Regions from separate parts of the Homo sapiens genome. Here region 1 is linked to region 2. Evidence: promoter capture Hi-C in human tissues and cell types (Jung and others, 2019). All regions are on one chromosome and are shown on one strand. The core of a region is centred on a gene start or on the middle of the fragment in contact, and the rest is flanking DNA. Distances in the headings are between cores, read along the strand shown.

Region 1 (2,896 bases), core at 87-2,586, 64 kb before region 2:
GAAGCCATCATATGAGCACCAGATTTGGCACAAGATACCTGCAGTGTTCAACACTTCCTTCATCAGTGACCACTCCATGCCACCTGCTGCAAGAGTAAGATGACTCAACATGTGCAAAACCCAATCTCCTGCCTCTAACTTACCAGTTCTCTCAGGGCTCCCAACCTTGGAAGCATCTTGACTTTGAGATTTCATTCACATCTCACATCCAGTCCAGAAGCATTTTTTTTCTACCTACATTAGAGTGGTAGAAGATTTTTTTTTTTTTTTTTTTGAGACAGAGGCTCGTTCTGTCCCCCAGGGTGGAGTACAGTGGCGTAATATTGGCTCACTGAAATTTCATCTCCCAGATTCAAACAATTCTCCTGCCTCAGCTTCCCGAATAGCTGGGATTACATGCATGAACCACCACCATACCTGGCTAATTTTTGTATTTTTAGTAGAGGTGGCGTTTTGCCATGTTGGCCAGGCTGGTCTCGAACTCCTGACCTCAGGTGATCCACCTGCCTCAGCTTCCCAAGGTGCTGGGATTATAGGTGTGAGCCACCGTGCCTGGGCTGATAGAAGATTCTGGATACTTTGAAGGCAGAACTGATACTATTATTCACACTCCATATCAAATTCAGCAAAACCTGACATGGCATAAACTCTATGCCTCACAGTTTGGGGAGCCACAATGGTTACAAAATAAGAGTCTGACGGGCTCTTACCTGGAGCCCTTATCTGCTACCCTCTGGGCTATTCTTGCAGATTCATAAATATTAAATGAAAAATTATTTTGTCAGATTGGCTGTAGAATAGAAGCTAGTAGGGCTAAATACTATGGCACAAAGGACAGACACCCCGAGGGGCCTGGCAGCCTCGTCTCTTCTGGAGAGCGGTGACATGCACTGCAGTGGGCTAGTCTCAGCTTGGGGTGGTGGCCCTGGACCAGATAGAAGGAATTCTTCCCACTCCATTAAAGCAGAGCTCCTCAAGAGGTTTTCTGCCTCATGGCTAAAACTAAGAGATTGGGGAGGGACTGAGAAGGGCAAGACAAACTGAGGTTTCACTGGTTTACTGCTGCTACTGACAGCTCTTGTAAAACTCCACTTTAGGTGTGTGAATTACACATGAATAAAGCAGTTTTGAACATCTGTACCTTAGGTATCTTTCCCAAGAGATTTCTCCTCTTACATTTTGTCAACAAATTGATGTTCGCTTAAAACTGGACCTAACCACTACGAAGCCTGGAAAATGTGAGATTTGCCCATATGCTATCTGATATAGAAAGGACTGCAAAAGAGGCACTTTAACAAAACGGCGAGGTGGCTGAGGGGTGGGACACCTGCCAGTATCAGGCCCTGCCAGTATCTTGAGGCTGGTCCTCTCAATTGCAAGGACCACACCCCAGCTCCAAACCTCCCCATGGGATGGTCCAGGCCTCTGTTGCAGGTACATCACCATTTAATGATCTTCTCTGCTGTCCCTCGGGGAAGCTGGCCTCACCCAGCTCTCCAGCTGCTGACCAGCTGCCAGACAGCCTAGCATGGGCTCCTGACACACCCTCTGCTCTCTTGGCTTGGTCCCCTTCTACTAAGCACAGGGCTTACGAGGACGGGTGGGAACTGGAAGACACTCCTTCAATCTACCGCTCAGCTCTTAGCAAGGCAGGAGCTGGGCTTGCAATGTCTAAGCAGCAGAAGTATTTCACGTGCATTGCCATGTGAATGCAAGTAATTTAAATGCAGTGACAATTATTATGTATGAGGGAAGGAATTTCCTATGGAGATCCTCCCCCACTCAGCCCTTCCTGGTAAGGAAGCATTTTTCAAGCCTTAGCAAAACCATATCCTAAAGTTTTAACATTCCAACTATGAGGTTTGGCTGAAAAAGTAGAAACGGAGCACTCTGGCCCTATCGTGTCTGCGTGGGCCTCTGTCTGTGTCTGCCTGTCTCTCAGGCTTTCTCAGGTAACTTCCACTTAAGTTGTAGCTGACGCCTGTAATCCCAGGGCTTTGGGAGGCCAAGGTAGGATCGCTTGAGGCCAGGAGTTCAAGACCAGCCTGGGCAAGACCCGCATGTTTGTAAAAAGTGAGAAAATTAGCTGGGCATGGTGGTGGGTGCCTGTAGTTCCAGCTTCATGGGAGGCTGAGGCAGGAATCACTTTGAACCTGGGAGGTGGAGGCTGCAGTGAGCTGAGATCATGCCACTGCACTCCAGCCTGGGAGACAGAGCAAGAGACCCTGTCTCAAACAAACAAACAAAAATTAATTAATTAATTAAATTAAGAAAAAACAAAGACTGAGGGAGAGAAGAGGATGAGAGGGGCCAGTTGGCTGGCAGAGGAGGCTGCACTGTCTCTGGCGGGATCCTGTGCTTGCTTGGAGGATTGCCAGCAGGGTGGTCTTCAAAAGAATCTCTGACCCAAAGGCCTAGATTTTTTTATGAGAACACAGGAGCCGAGGAGCTGGAATTTCCAAAGGGTGTTCCAACCCCACCCCCACGGAAAGGCCCCTGGAAGAATGAGGCCCTCCGGGCCCAGGCCTCCTCTAACCGCCCCACCATTGCGTGCCCCTCCCCTGAGCGCGGCGCTCCCGGCGATCTTGGGCAGGTGGGGCCCCAAGGCCTTGTCAATGCGGGGCGAGGCGGGGCGGGGCCCGACAACCTTGGGCTGGTGGGGCAGAGCCCCGTGACCTTGTCCACACGGGGCGGGGGCCGCAGCGACATTGTGCACGCCGGGTGGGGGCCCTGCGACATTGTCCACGACCTTGTGCACGCGGGGCGGGGGCCCTGGCGACGTTGTCCACGCAGGGTAGGAGTCCCGGTGACCTTGCGCACACGGCGCAAGGGCCCTGGTGACCTTTTCCACGACCTTGTCCACGCAGGACAGGGATCCCCGCGACCTTGTGCACGC
Region 2 (2,806 bases), core at 216-2,715:
GGGTTTTACCTTCTTCAGGGTCCATTCCTCGCCTCGCCCCCCGTTCCCAACCCTCGGGACACTGGAGACTTGCATTTCACAAACGGGTTTGCTCCAGGCCGCACTCCATCCCCGAGGGAAAGCTCCCCAGAAGTTCTGGAGTTGGGCTGAAGGATGTGATGGCAAGATGTGAATGATGTCAGAATCCCCATCTCCAGAGTCCGGCTGGGGAGCTAAGCGCAGGTGAGCTTACATCAGAAGAGAAAGCCAAACCCCCCACACGTCGCTAAACTAGGGCACGGGAATGGCGTGTTATGCAACGGCCGCCGTTCGCGTGGCCACGAAAGCGCTCCTGCGCCTCGGGCCGCGTCCCGCCAAGACCGTGAGCAAACTCGCAGAGTTGGCGCGGCAGCCGGCCGGGAGACGCCGAGCAGGGCCTGGCCGCCCGCAGCCCGGGAGGAACGGCGCCCCCAGGGTCCGGTGGCCTCTGAGGGGCTGACTGGCCCGTGAGCCGGCGGCGCGGCCGCGGGGAACGGGGTGGGAACCGCGCGGCAGTGGGTGAGGCGGCGCAGCCACCGGGGGCTGAGGGGCGGCGCGGCCTCGACTGCGGCACCGCCGTGGGTCCGTCGGCTCGCGGGACGACGGGGCGGCCGGCGGGGGCCAACAGGGCGGGCTCTGAAGGACTGATTGGCCCGTGGGACGATGGCGCGGCCGGGAGGATGGCCCCGGATCCGTGGGACCGCTGCGCCGCCGGACCGGGGGTCCCGAGGCTGTCAGGGGCGCCCGGCCGGGCGTCTAGTGAAAAGCCGATCCCCCGGAGACAGCGGAAGCAGAGGCGCGCCCGGCGCTACGGCCTTTCGGGTCTAGGACACCGCCCCCGGCCCGCGCCGCCCCTGCCCCGCCGGGATCCCGGCCGCCCCGGTCGCCGCACAACAAAGCGGCGCAGCCCCGCTGCCCCCGCCCGACGCCGGCCTCCAACTTCCCCGGCTCCTCTGGAACCGGCTCCGCGGGCTCCGTACGGCCTGGACTACGAGCCGCCGGGCGGGGGCGGCTCCGGGCGGGCGCGGACCGTGGGGGCAGGGCGCAGGGCTCCGTCCGGACAAACTTCCTCGGCCGCCCCGCCGGGCGCCCTTCCCGGAGCCTCGGCACCACAGTAGGTGCGCGGAGCCGCAGGGCTCGACCGCTTCGCGGAAACTCTCGCCACCCTCCGAGCTGCCGCCCCGACCCCAGCTCCCAGCCCCCTCACCTCCAGGGGCGCGGTCTACACCCTCGGGGGCGTCCTGGCCGGCGGCTCCCGGGCCTCTCGCGCCGGGAGACCGGGCACTGGTGGCTGGAGCTGCTGCTGGCCCCGCAGGGACGGGGGAGCCCCGGGCGGCGGCGGTGGCGTGGACGGCGACTGCTCCATCTTCCCGGGGCGCTCACGCCGCGGTTCCAAAGCGCAGACCCAAGTGGGACATTCGCTACATTGTTGGCATTCCACGGGCGTCACGTGACCCCGCCTCCCGCGTCACTCTCGGCCGCATACCAGTCCGGGCGGGGCGCCTGCGGCCCCTGCTCCTCCGCGGCCGCTCCGCCCAGCCCCGCCCGGCCGTGCTTCCTGCCTCCGGCCTCGACCGCCACCTGCCCACGGCCTCCCTGCTGGCCTGCGGTAGCTCGCCAGGGCCTCTCGGACCTATTTGACTGGCTGCTATCTGCCCCCAAACTTGAGTATTTGCCCTCTCGACTGCATTTGTATTAAAAGTTGGTAACTGTCGTTAAAGCCACTATTCTTAAGTATCTCATACCAGTCTTGGTGAAAGAAAAAAAAAAGTTAGCAGGCCTGAAGGAGCCACCAAGTTACCAACTAGTGGCTGGACACTAAAAATAGGGGCAGAAAAGGACAGACGGCTATTGGGACAGTGGAATCAAACAATTAAGAAGGACGTTTGCCAGAAGCGGTGGCTCACGCCTGTAATCCCAGCACTTTGAGAGGTCTAGGCGGGTGGATCACCTGAGGTCGGGAGTTCGAGACCAGCCTGACCAACTTGGAGAAACCCCCGTCTCTATTAAAAATACAAAATTAGCCAGGCGTGGTGGCTCATGCCTGTAATCCCAGCTCTTCGGGAGGCTGAGGCAAGAGAATCACTGGAACCCGGGAGGCGGAGGTTGCGGTGACCTGAGATCGCATCATTGCACTCCAGCCTAGGCAAGAAGAGCAAAACTCCGTCTCAAAAAAAAAAAAAAAAGAACGTCTGATGCACACCCAAATTTAACCTGATTTAATTTAATCAACCTCCCCTCCCCATGTATATTTTCTTTCTGAGAAGTATTTTATGGTGTAGGGAATAGTATAGTACCGTATATACCAGCAAGTGAGGTCGTGGGTTTTGAACAGCTTCACTATCCATTTGAGGACTGTGGATCTGGTACAGGGACAGAAGCAGGGATGGTGCAAAGATTCACAGTAGAAATAATAGACTGGAAGCCAAATCCTCAGTCTACTTCTGGCTCTCCTAACATCATACTTCCTACCACCTATATCTGTGGCAAGTGATGCTGAGGGTCAATATAGTGTTTAAAGTCAACTCGATTTCCTCTTTAATTGACAAACTCTTGTGAAATTTTTAAATTTTACTCTCATGGGAAACAGTAGTAAAGGTCATTATCTGTGCACTATTTTGACAGTCTCACCCAGCCTTCAGTCCCTGGTTCATCCTCCTCCCCTCCCTCTCTTTCAATCTCTTAAGGCCTCAGCTCTTCCAGGGAATCTTCTCAGATCTCTGTTTTCTCTCTTCTTTGGGCTCTGATAATCAAACCGTAATCCCTTCCTGCCAGCAGAAGTGTGCAA

Evidence for each region. The method cuts DNA at HindIII sites, captures the fragments that hold promoters and counts their contacts. A contact is called where the count stands out against the background at its distance.
Region 1: a contact is called between a fragment that was not itself captured here and the fragment with the promoter of LATS2 in region 2, in 2 of the 25 tissues and cell types used here (IMR-90 fibroblasts and neural progenitor cells).

Annotation. Positions count from the first base shown.
Region 1 is chr13:20,996,123-20,999,018 of GRCh38, forward strand. All of the region lies in intron 2 of LATS2 (large tumor suppressor kinase 2), which reads right to left. Among named protein-coding and RNA genes, the nearest start is that of LINC00367, 48 kb to the left of the region's middle. RefSeq lists enhancers at 958-1,497, 2,279-2,815. The HindIII fragment of the contact is 5,541 bases long and covers 1-2,896 here.
Region 2 is chr13:21,060,121-21,062,926 of GRCh38, forward strand. It overlaps LATS2 (large tumor suppressor kinase 2), which reads right to left and starts at 1,466. Exons shown (of 8, transcript NM_014572.3): 1 at 1,226-1,466. RefSeq lists an enhancer at 1-825 and silencers at 331-740, 881-1,680. The HindIII fragment of the contact is 21,659 bases long and covers 1-2,806 here.